Regions from separate parts of the Homo sapiens genome. Here region 1 is linked to region 2. Evidence: promoter capture Hi-C in 16 types of primary human blood cells and fetal thymus (Javierre and others, 2016). All regions are on one chromosome and are shown on one strand. The core of a region is centred on a gene start or on the middle of the fragment in contact, and the rest is flanking DNA. Distances in the headings are between cores, read along the strand shown.

Region 1 (6,390 bases), core at 2,737-5,236, 730 kb before region 2:
CACAAACTGTTGGGCCTGTCCCAGTGATACTGAATCGAAATTTACTGAGGAGGGACCTGGGAGATTACACTGCTTGAACAGCATGGTACCGGGGAACCAGAGATCAACTTCAACCCTTCTGTTAGCTCTTAGTGGGCTGGTCAGCTGGATGTAGAAGCTAAATTGACAGCAGGCAGATTAACAAGAGAAAAATGTATAAATTTTACTAGTTTTACATGTACTTGGGGATCTTCACAAGAAAGTGAAGTCTGAACAAGAGGCCAAAGTAAGATATTCTTATACTTTTTAGACAAAGAATGATAAATTTGAGAAGAAACAACAGGAGAAAGAAAATCTGGCTAGGACAGTAAAATTTTCTAGGGGAGTCACAGGAGATATATGAGGGGGTGTAAAGCAAGTGGAAGATAAAGGTTATTTTGTTCGTAAGTTTGTTTATTCGGGTTCCTTGCAGCCTCCAAGTCTCTGGTGATAAGGGCTATTTTCTCATCCTGGTATGGATAAATCTCAGGGCCTTCGAAGAGTATCCGTCCCAGAGGATTCTTTATCCCTTGCTCCATACAGGAAGATATAGATCAGCTCTTCCTTTCTGAAACTAGAATTTCTCCATTGTTTTCCATTAGAAATAATCAACATACAAATTTTGGGATGGCACATCCTTCAGTCCTCCAATGGTATCTACCATATTTTTTTCAAACATATAACATACTTTAAGGTAATGAGATTAGGTCGTGCAGCTCACAAATAGCTCTGAAGGCAGTTCCTATAGCAGAGACTCAATTGTTATGAGCATTAGCTATTGGCATGACAGAATAGGCTTCAAAGTGACTTCTTTGAAGGACAAGATTTATTTGAATGTTCTGCTTTAGAATCATTAAAATGAGCACCCTCACTGCCATGTTGGCTCTACGCACAGTAAGATTAGAGAGACAGCGTTTTACAGTGAAAAGAGTAAGTCAACCCTGGTTTGGGATCTGGATAAATTGCTTAACTTCTCAGAGCCTTAGTTTCTTCATCTGTAAAATGGATTACTACCCAATTTGAAGGACTATTGTATACATTAGAAATAACTATATATGCCTTGTCATGTAGTAGATGCTTATAGCAGTTCTTATAATAATAAAGCGAAGTCCCCGTGGTGTATTGTAAATGTGAACCACACTCCTCAGCAGTGATCCTTGTGTGCTAAGCTAGTGGACCAGAGTTTCCAGCTGAAGTAGATCTGGAACCGAGTCTTGAAAAATGTGTGTAGAGAAGCTTCTGTACTTTTCTTATGTGGATGGCAGTGGCGAGGGGGCGGTGGCGGGTGCAGCTGCAATACTTAAAAAGGAATTCTATTGTGGCAATAAATGAATATGGCAAGAAATGAGCCTGGCAAGAAATGAATGACAATGGCCCCTAGGTGGTGCTGAATCATCATGGAAGTGGAGGCTGGACACTTGGCATTTGCGGAGGTGACTTCCTTCTGGTTTGAATTTCAAATAAGAGCAGGACAGCTCCTTGGGATGTCTGGGAAAAAAGACCAGGCAGAAAAGAGTCTTTTCACTAGGAGCGGGTGCAAAATACTCTTGCCTGTGAGGCCTCTTCAGGTCTTCGGTTTGCTTTAGTTGGAAACAGGAAGCAGGGTCAGACCAACTTGTATTCATTTGCTGAGAGCTGTTGGAGCTGTGACTGATTCTGACAGATCAAATACCATTTATAACACTCCTGTGGGGGACACTTTAACCGGGGATGTTAGTGCTAGCCCCTCCAGAGACTAAGTATGTTTGCGGGATGTGAGGACCCCTGGAATATACAAATATGCATGCTAATGAATTTTAACAAAAATAACCCATTATTGTTTTCTGTGCAACACTGTGCATTTCTCAGCTACACCTGTCCTTTCCAACCTCAATTGCTGGGCAACCTATTTTTCTTTCGGCATCAGAAGCGATAGCATCTGGGAAGTGAATCTGATGAATTCTGCCTGGCAACCAACATCTTTCCAACTGCCAGATCCTGGGGTAAGAAACTGAGATGCTCTGGAGCTGGTTCAGGGCCAGAACGCACCTGTCCTTGAGGGCCTGGTGATGGGGGAAGGAGGCTGGCCAAATGCAGAACTTCTGAAAGTCCACTTCCTGAGTTCATTTCCATTTTGGCAAAATGTGACTTAGGTTTCCAAGGGAAGGAGTTTACATGTATTAAAATGTCTCAGTGGCTGAAGTTGCTTTGTGTCCTCCGCTAAAGCCTCCTACCATCGATTCCCATCTCCAACACGTTTTCAACTGTGGTGTTTTGGGAAGGTAACCATAGCAACTAATCTTATTCAGAAATGACTGGACCTAGGCAGTAAACGGCAAGGTAACCCCATGGTAATTTTCAGTGGAAACCCAATATTGATTCTAACAATTGTACAGGCTGAGCACTGTTAGCTATTTACTAAGCACTGTTCTCCTTTAAGACATTTGATTCTCACAACCCTGTGAGGTAGTCATCATTATCCTCTCTAACACTCGAGAGTTGGCCCATGGTTGTGCAGCTAATTAAATCTGCTGGACCCTGAAATCAGCTTTTTTCTCTTATACAGACTCTGCCTTCTAAGGAAAACTGGAGAGACGCCTTCCGGTGTCTATTTTGCAGGTAGTAAAAGTGAGTCACAGAATCATGGAAATTGTTCAAGGCAACAGCAGAGCTGCAGATCCTCTGCCCTAATCCCAATAATGCCTTTCTGTTATATGTAGAGCTTTAGAGCTCTCAAGATTATCTCATCTATTGCTCACAGCGGGTCTTTGTGATGATTATATCTATTTATAGATGAGAAAATTGAGACATGAAAAGGTTAAATGGCATTTCTCAAGGTCACCAATTACTATATTGAAGAACAAGAAATAAAATCCGTTTCTAATTCTCTGCTGCCTTACTAGATGTGGTGCTTTAAAAATATTTCATCCACTTATCTGTTTCAGAATGTATCAGATACATTAGGTACCATATATTATGTGTGGTTGACAAGATTTTCAGGATTAACTTTAATTCACCAGAGATAAACTTTATATCTAATGAGATCATCTTTATGGAAATACTGTTTATGAGTATAAATGTTTTTATGTGAGAATTATATATTCTAATGAATCTTTAAAAATCCATACTTCATGTGCTATAGATGCAAAATCATAAATTTATCTCTGTAAATTGCCTAAGATGATGGTAGAGAAGGGTGTTATGCTTAAAATTTTTAGCGCTGTAAAAGCTACAATAGTCTCAAGAGAAAAATGGTCAGTAATCTTTAACAGAGCCACCTGCCATGCATGGGGCCCAGTGTATGGAGAGGAAGGGTGGGGGCATAACCCCAATCCCACAGGGTATGTTCGGTGGCTTAGATTTGTTCACTCAGTGGGGTAGAGGCACAACTCATGAAGTGACACCCAGAAGCCTGGACTCCAAGTTCCTTTGAGAGCTTGATGTAGACCCTTCAAACATTGGTCGGGGGTGGGAGTGCGAGGTGAGAGTAGGAGGTGTGGGAAGGTGACTGGAGATAGAAGCCTGACTCTTGCCTGGAAAAGCCCAAAGGCAGAAGGCTGCCTGGAGCTGCTGCTGATGGCAGAGCAAAAACAGGTGGCTGTAAGAAGGCTTTTGGCTTCCAAGTTTTGCAGGGGAGAAGGGATGGCATGGATGCATAATATTTCCTGTGGATTAAACGAATGCTGAAGAAACTAGCAGGCTTGAGTCATCCTGAAAGGCACCTGTCCTAGAGGACGTCCTGCCAAAGCTCAGAAATCTCAGCAAAAAGAGGCTGTATGGGGTCTTCACAGTCAGCCTGAGAGTGCCTTGTGGGGGTCAGGTCAGGGAATGCTGTGGTGTAAGAAAGACACGCCATGGAAAGAGAGGTGGGAGTAGGGGTGTCTCTTAAGAACCCACAAAAGTCACTCATGTGAGGAGGAGCCAGCACTTGAGCATCTAGCACACAAAGGGCATCCTCGCAGACTGCAAGGTCACCAGTGAATAGACCCATTTACCTCTAGTCCCTCCTCCCCACCTGGCCCTGGAGATGCCAGAGGCAGCACAGTGAGCGGGGCAGGAGGAGCAGAAAACAGAGCAAGGGGGGCAAACAGCAAAAGAAGATTCCACAGCCTCCTCCCCCTGCTGCTCATTACTGAGCTGGAAGAAAGGAAGGAATCTTAGATTGGGTGAGAGCTGCATATTTTGAGAATAGATCAGGTGATGAGCTTTTTAATACCTTAAAATGAGGCTCTGCTAATAGCCATGTGCAACCAAAAATACTCTGGCATATGCCGGAGATGGCCTCTCTGAGGTGGGAAGGGAGAGCTGGCAGAGCCAGTGTGATGGGCAAGGGAGGGAAGAAGATGGAGCTGTTTCCAGCCTGCTGGAGCTACTGACCCAGCCTGTTCAATAAACTAGTGTCCCCTAGTAAGAGCCTTCCAAGTTAATCGAATGAACCCCTGGATTTCTTCTTGCTCTGTCACCCCCAGCAGTGAGGCTCACTCTAGAGTTTAGATCCTGCGTGTTCTTTTTCTTTTAACATCTGGTAGAAAAAGCACCCCCTGGCCTCTTCCACTTGGTTTCACATTTTCACTTTAGAGTTATCACCAAGTAGAAAAGCCACTTTTCCCTAAACTGCAGGCAAGAGCTGCAAACTCCCTCTAGGTGACTTTGTTGGGCCTTCAGAAGGTTAGAATCTGAAGGGAGTAAACATTACAATTAGGAAAAATTATCTCTTACAATAAAACATCCTCTCATACTGTCTGTAATAGCATATAATGTTACATGGGCCCGAACAATATGTATTCATCTGCAATTATTTATGCTCACCAGGGAAAAATTATTTGTTTATTGTTTTAATCATGATTAACCAGCAGTGTAATGATAGGGTGATAATGATAACAACGTGAAGAATGAAATGTTTGAGGTGCAAATGGAAGGCAAGATGCTAACCCTAGATGCTGAAAGTTTCTGGTAGAGCACAGAGGCAGGAAGTCTATTCTTTAGTGGTGTGTGTGTGTGTGTGTGTGTGTGTGTGTGTGTGTGTGTGTGTGTGTGTGTGGTGTGTGTTGGGGGAAACGCATGGTATAGGGGGTACATTTATCCTGAACAAGGACGAGATAGGAGTGGCCCAGTGCTCTTCTGACTTCCAAAGCCTGCTTTGCATTCAAGTTCAGGAGCTTAGGGCTCTCAAAGACTTCTTTTTCCTTCCATTCCTCCCACAGAATGAGAACAAATCCTGGTTAGAGCTACAGGGATCTTCCCAGCTTGTGAAAATTCCCATGTAATTGTTTCTGAGAGGCTGTCTTTCTTTCTCAGAAGTTCCAGAGAATTCCAGCTTCCCAAGGGCTGACCTTGAGTCATCCACACACCCGTTTTCCACCTTCTCAGCTCTGGAACAGGGTTTGGTTCCGTGGCTTATGACTTTCCCAAGGTTTCTGAGCTCGGTCCAGCAAGTAAAATATGTATCCCCTTCACTTAAGGAAGCAAAATTTTGTGGGCAAATTCTCAATCATGGCAAATCTTCATCTTTTGTATCTGGCTTTGGTTTAAACAAATGGTTAAAAGTACCTCCCAGCTAGCTTTGGTGAATGAAGTTGATAAAACTAAGTTACATTCCTTTTGATTAAATATAGGCATGAAGAGTTAATTTTTCTCTTCAGATAAGAACTAACTCAGAAGGCAGTTCCAGAAGAAAAGTGCATCCAAATATTTTGAACAATGACAGCATCATGGGAATAAGTGTACGGCATGTCTCCCGGGAAGAGTATTTGAAGCCCAAACCAACAGATACCACATAAAATACAACAATAGCCACTATCTTTTAAGCATTTTCCTCAAAGGTTGATTAAATGAAACACTTCAACTTTGGGGTAAGTATTATTAATGCCCACTTTATAGATGAAAAAATTCAGACTTAGACTTATCAGCCATGTGGCTTTGAGCAAGTAATTTAAATTTTTAGATTTGATTCCAGAGCCATATATCATATATGATATAACTTTGTACCAACCAAACAGAAAGCAAGTCATTTTCAAACAAATGCTTTATTGATTTTCTCTTATTTATATACTAGGATATGAAGTTAACAATACATTTTACATGGGTACCTTTCTGTCAAGTTGGAATGAATTTCCGCATGAATAAGAAAGGCCCATTTTCTCTTCATTTTTGTATTTTGAATAGTAGAGAGGCAAGGGAGAGAGAAGGAGGGCCACTGGGCTGAGAATCAGGAGACCTGGGTTCCAGCCACTGCCTCTGTCATTTAAATTCTCTAGGATGCCTGTTATTCCAGCACTTTGAGAGGTGGGCAGATTGCTTGAGCCCAAGGGTTCGAGACCAGCCTGGACAACATCGTGAAACCCTGTCTCTACAAAAAAAATACAAAAATTAGCTGGACTTGGTGGCATACAT
Region 2 (6,255 bases), core at 2,165-4,664:
GTCACGTAATCATTACAATAACACTATGAGGTGCTATTATCATCTTTATTTTACAGATGGGAAAACTGAGGCACAAGAGTGAACAATTTGCCCAAAGTCATTAGCTAATAAGTGGCTGAGCCAGTGCAATGAATTCACCCCCACCCCTGTCTCCTGCAAATTCGTATTTTTGAAATCTTCACCCTCAATGTGATGGTATTAGGAGATGAGGCCTTTGGGAGGTAAACCCCTTGTGAATGGGATTAGTGCCTTATAAAAGCAACCCGAGAGCTCTTGCTCTCTTTCTGCATTGTGAGGTAAAGGGAAAAAACAGCCATCTACAACCCTGAAGAGGGCCTTCACCAGAACCTGACCATGTTGGCAGCCTGATTTCAGATATCCAGCCTCCAGAGCTATGAGAAATACATTTCTGTTGTTTATAAGCCACCAGTCTATATGGTACTTTACTACGGCAACCTGAACTCACTGAGAGCCAGGATTTGAATTCAAATGTTGAGAAAACTTTGCCCGGGACCACTCAGAAATTCACTATTTATTCGATAAATACCTAACAAGTACCACTATATTCTAGACATTGTGCTGTTGCTAGGGAGAGGAAAAGCTGGTAGTGAACAAGACAGACGTGGTCCTTACCTGCACAATTACATGGACACTAAACAAATAATGAGAAGTAGGAATTGGAAAAGAAAGTGATAAGTTACAGTTAAGTAGGAGGAATGGGTGACAGAAAAAAATTCCAGGGGAAGGGAAGGGCATGTGTAAATGCCCTGAAGTGAGAGCCTACAGTAGGGAATAAAAAGAGGAGAGCCTGGAAAAAATTAAAATACTATGGCAGGAGTGCAGGCAGCTAGGGGGACAGATGGAGAGGCTGGAGAGAAAGACAAGTACAGATAATGGAGCTTAGACAATGTGTGGTAAGCAAAGGGAGACCACTGGAGGAATTTAAGCAGGTCAATGATCAGATTTATATTTAAAAAATTACTCTGGCAGCAGTATGGCAAATGTATTGGAACGAGGCAAGAGCAGTTTTGGAGGACCTGAATGGGTTACTGTGGGACTTCAAGCAAGAGGCAACAGTGGTTTAGACTAGAATGGGAATGAAAAAATGGTCATGGGAACAGAGAGAGGTCACAAATCCAATTTTCCAGGGAGCAGACAGATGTAGGTGATTCTGCTGTGTGTTGGAGGTGTGCTAGGTTTCTGGCATGAACTGGGTAGATGTTAAGATACCCTTTACTGAACCAGGGACTATGGGAGGAGCGTTTTGAAGGAATTATGATATACGGGTTGAGTTTGAAATGCCCTAAGTCATCCAAATGAAAGTGTACCAAAGGCAGTATGCTGGGAACTATGAATGTAGGATTCCAGAGCAAGATCTAGGCTTGAGTTATGGATTGAAGAGTCTTTGACAGAGGGTATTTGATGCTGCTGGGAGAGCATAAGACCACCTAGGAAAGTGTATGGGGAGACTCAGTAAGAGGGCCAGGGTTCAGCTCAGCATGATTCCAATGTGTAAGAGGTAGATCAAGGAGGAGCTGGTTGTTAAAGAGCAAACTCAGGTAGGGAGGAAACCTGGGACATAAGACCAGAGGGAAGAGGGTATTTGGAAGCAACTGTGGTCAATCGCGTCAAATACTGGGATGAGGGCTTGTAAAATGAGGACTGAAAATGATCCGCTGCATTTACAGTCATGAAGCTTGTCTGTGGACAATTCAGAGCCACTTCAGGTGAGCGGTGGGGACACTGGAGAGGGCTGGGAGGTGGGACATGAAAGACTGTCCATGGGGTAAGAGACAGCTGCAGTTGTTGGAGAGCAATTTAGGGAGAAGAGAAATCTTTTTAAAGAATTGAAAGACTTAAGCATGTTTAAATACCAGTAAGAAAGAGCCGGTAGAGAAGGAAAGGTTGAGAGTAACAGAAGGAAAGGAGACTCGTTAAGGGCAAAGTCCATAAGAAAACAGTAGGGTACCTGGAGTACCAGGAAGGACAACTCTTTCTTTACAAGAGAAGTGAGTCATGGGCGGAGTCCAGAATCGAACCCTCTCTGCTTCCTAAAGACACGTCTCCTTTAAAGGACAGAAAAAGAATGATTAAGACTTGAGGCCGGGCGCGGTGGCTCATACGTGTAACCCCACCACTTTAGGAGGCCGAGGCGGGTGGATTACCTGAGGTCAGGAGTTCCATACCAGCCTGGCCAACATGGTGAAACCCCGTCTCTACTAACAACACAAAAATTAGCCAGGTGTGGTGGCAGGTGCCTGTAATCCCAGCTACTAGGGAGGCTGAGGCAGGAGAATCGCTCGAAACCGGGAGGCGGAGGTTGCAGTGAGCCGAGATCGTGCCACTGCACTCCAGCCTGGGCGACAAGGGCTAGACTCCGTCTCATTAAAAAAAAAAAAAAAAAAAAAAAGACTTGAAACCCCAAGGAGAGGGCTGCAGAGTTCACTATCAAGGAGAATGGGGACCTAGTGGTGCCGTCCTGAGAGACCTCTGAAAGAACAATTCAGTAGTTTCCAGCCACGGAAGTCCCCCTGCTGGGTTTAGGGTGCAGTGGGTGCGAATCCCTGCTGTAGAAAACAGGCTGAGGAAAGAAAGCGACACAGGATGTTGTCTGGAGAAAGGCGGGGAGGTAGGATGGGGCATATTTCCAGGGGTCCGGGCAGGTTGTGTGGCTTGGAGGCCTCCGAGGGCCGTCGACGTCAGCCATGGTCCGGGCAGAGCCCCGCAAGGTGCCACAGTATCGGGGCCAGCGCCCCCCGGAAAAGCATGCTCCGCTGGCGGCCGCCAGGTTTCTCCGCGGAGTCTCGGAAAGGAAAACCCGTCCCCACGGGGGTCCCACGACGCCCCCGGGTCCCAGGCCCCGGGACGTTGGCAGAGGCGCAGCAGACCTTCTTCCCCAGCCCGCACGGCTCCAGCGGTCCGGCCGCGTCCCAGCCCGGGCTGCCCGTCCCCCGTCTCCCGGCGGCGTCGGAAAGTTCCCGGGGCTGGCGGCGGTCAAGAGCAGAGCCAGGGCAGCCGCAGCCGCCTTCTAGCCCGCCGCTCACCGCCGCAGGGGCAGGCCTGAGCGGGGGTTTCCACCAAGTCGCCGACACCCCTCGGGAATTCCCCCACTGGGCCACACACAAACCCCGCTTCCTCCTTCAAATTTCCGCTGCCGGCTTTACCGATGCGAAAGCCGCGGTGGAGTTTAGACCACTCCTCCCGGCGCCGGGCTCAGCCCGCCTTCGCCTTCCCTCTCCCCGCGGAACCCCTTCTCGTCGCCCGAAGAAACCCGAAGGTCTTCGGCAAGTTCCGTCCCCAGCGCGGGGGCGGGGCCGCTCGAGCTGCTCCGGGCCTAGCTCGGCTGTTTCCGTGCGCGGCCGCTGCGCACTCGGCACTGGGCGGCGCTGGCTGGCTCCCTGGCTGCGGCTCCTCAGTCGGCGGCGGCTGCTGCTGCCTGTGGCCCGGGCGGCTGGGAGAAGCGGAGTGTTGGTGAGTGACGCGGCGGAGGTGTAGTTTGACGCGGTGTGTTACGTGGGGGAGAGAATAAAACTCCAGCGAGATCCGGGCCGTGAACGAAAGCAGTGACGGAGGAGCTTGTACCACCGGTAAGAGGAGCAGGAGGAGGAGGCAGGAGCCAGAGAGAGCCGGGGGGACGGAGGGGGGACGGGGAGGCGCCGGACACCCGCGCTTGGGGCCTTCCCCTCGCAGGAGGGGCCGCGGTAAAGATGGAGCCTCCGCCCGAGCCCCACAACATCGCCGCCGCTCGCAGCGAACAAAGAATAATGGCGGCGGACTGGAGCCAGCGGCGGCCGGGGCGGCAGCGACTCTGCCTGCAGCCAGCGGCGGCGCTCATGGCGGGGGGCGGCGGGCGGCGGGCGGCGGGCGGGGTGGGAGCCGGCGGCCGGGGGTGTGTGCGGGCGGCCGGCCGCGGCGAGCTGGCGCCCGCGTTCCCGCCGCCGCCGCCGGGCCGGGCGCGGAGCCGGGAACCCGGAGCCGCCCCGGGGGAGGCCGCCCGCTCGGCCCGGCGCTGCCCCCCGCGCCGCTCGCTCGTCCGGCCCCCGCCGCCCGCCTCGCCCCCGGCCCGACCCGGCCGGGCCTCCGGGGCAGCCGCCGCCTAGGTGCCGGTGGGGGATGGAGGAGGAAGAAGGCGACAGTTGAGGGCAGAGGAGGTGAAGGTGCCTGCTGCCTTCCCGGTGGCTTCGGTGCCTGCCATGCCCGCTTCGCAAGGGGAAGAGCTGCAACGTCTGACCTACTCTTCTCTCCACTCTTTGTGCAATAAAGTTCGAAACCCAAGGTTTCCTCTCGTGCTGTATTTTATTCGTGCCCTTTCCCCCCCGCTCCTACACCGTTGAGGAAATGCTGCTTTCTGCCCTGTGTTGCTTAGTTGAGAGATGAGAGCTTGTGCTTTTGGGGGGAATTTTTGACTCCCTCACCCCTTTGCTTTTTTTTTTTTTTTAAAGTCAGTCATGGAAATGCATGCTTTTTGGGAGAAAGGGTGCTAAGAAAAACATTTATAATAACTTTTTAAACTGTTGGGATCTTATAAAAGGGAAGCTGGTGTTTGAAAACAGTTTCGGTTTTAACCCTTTTTAATAAGGTAATCATCACTTGAGATCTATCATTCTGAAACACTTCGTTGGAACGAGTATCAGCCGATGTACTCTTGTTTTACATCATTTCGCGGGGTGCAACCTTGCCAACCGCGTTTGGGTCATCTGGATCTCCCCTCACCCTCCGTCCCACTCCCCCTACCATATTTCCCACGAATTTCTGTGTGAACTTTAATGAGAGATTGATTTAATACTACTACTAAAAATAGACATTAAAGTATCCATTATTTGTCTCATGCAGTAGGTAACCCCCGTCTTGAGATTGACAATTTAAGCCACAAGCTGTATTTTTTCTTCGCCTGTTGGGAAAAGAGGACAGCAGAAAAGTCATTGACACATTAAAAATTAAAAGACAGTTTTTGAAGGACGTGCGGTATGACCTATTTAAGTTTGTAATACCATCTCAAGTTATAATTCTAACCTCAGCTGGCGTCTAACTTCTGAAGGTTTAGTAGAAGATACTTTTGATTGCTGCCTATTGAAATCTTTTACATTTATGGCTCATTTCGTGATTTAAAAGTAAAGCCCCGAACAGTTATTTTAGGTGGTGCAAAAGACGAACAAGTTTGTTTTAAAAATACTTGTCTGTCACTGTATGATTGCATTGTGATTGATACGTACAAACCTTCTGGTTAAGAACAAATATTGATTGGCAGCAGAAGCACTGTCTTATTTTTCTGTATTCTAGTCACTTTTCCAAAACGTGCTTTGCTGTATTGCTTCTCTTTAAAAGACCACATTGGCAATTTGTCATTTCCAAGAAAATTAAGAAGAGGCAATAAAGGCAGGTTTTCTATAAAGATTGGGGAAATGATTTTATTTCCGAGCACTGAAAAAATTATAGTATTGATAATGGTAGCTTACCATTTTTCCTTTATGTTGTTCCGCAAGCCACTATCAGTAGAGTAGAATTTTTTTTCTTGTTAAGAATATAAGTCGGGCGCGGTGGCTGAGGCCTGTAATCCCAGCACTTGGGGGGTCGAGGCGGGCGGATCACTTGAGGTCAGGAGTGCAAGACCAGCCTGGCCAACATGATGAAACCCCATCTCTACTAAAAATACAAAAATTAGCCGGGTGTGGTGGCACGCGCCTGTAATCCCAGCTACTCGGGGGGCTGGGGTTGCAGTGAATTGAGATCGTGCCATGCACTTCAGCCTGGGCGACACAGCAAGACTCCGTCTCAAAGAAAAAAAAAAAAAAGAAAGAATATATGACTCTTCATTTGTGAGATTTTTAAAAAATTGTTCACTGATGGCCGAGTGCGGTGGCTCACATCTGTAATCCCAGCACTTTGGGAAGCCGAGGCAGGCGGCTCACGAGGTCAAGAGATCGAGACCATCCTGGCTAACATGGTGAAACCCCGTCTCTACTAAAAATACAAAAATTAGCTGGGTGTCGTGGCGCGTGCTTGTAATCCCAGCTACTAGGGTAGCTGAGGCAGGAGAATCTCTTGAGCCCAGGAGGTGGAGATTGCAGTGAGCCGAGATCGCGCCACTGCCCTCCAGCCTGGTGACAGCGAGACCCCATCTCAAAAAAAAAAAAGTTTACTGATAAGTTCTTTCTTTAGTCTTGCCCGAGAGATATTTTAAATTGTATTTTTTATTTTTATTTTTATTTATTTGTTTTTTTGAGACGGAGTTTGGCCCTTATTGCCCAGGCTGGA

Evidence for each region. The method cuts DNA at HindIII sites, captures the fragments that hold promoters and counts their contacts. A CHiCAGO score of 5 or more calls a contact.
Region 1: a contact is called between a fragment that was not itself captured here and the fragment with the promoter of CREB1 in region 2, in 16 of 17 cell types (M2 macrophages, naive CD4 T cells, total CD4 T cells and 13 more). The highest score is 16.4, in M2 macrophages.

Annotation. Positions count from the first base shown.
Region 1 is chr2:206,799,298-206,805,687 of GRCh38, forward strand. No RefSeq gene overlaps it. Among named protein-coding and RNA genes, the nearest start is that of MIR3130-1, 19 kb to the left of the region's middle. The HindIII fragment of the contact is 5,469 bases long and covers 1,253-6,390 here.
Region 2 is chr2:207,526,548-207,532,802 of GRCh38, forward strand. CREB1 (cAMP responsive element binding protein 1) reads left to right here and starts at 3,415. Exons shown (of 8, transcript NM_004379.5): 1 at 3,415-3,587. LOC124907970 (a long non-coding RNA gene) reads right to left here and starts at 3,050. Exons shown (of 3, transcript XR_007088060.1): 1 at 2,889-3,050; 2 at 1,970-2,066. RefSeq lists silencers at 2,784-2,963, 3,634-3,763, 3,794-3,843, 4,554-4,723 and enhancers at 2,984-3,183, 3,444-3,543, 5,132-5,633, 5,634-6,133. The HindIII fragment of the contact is 5,804 bases long and covers 1,695-6,255 here.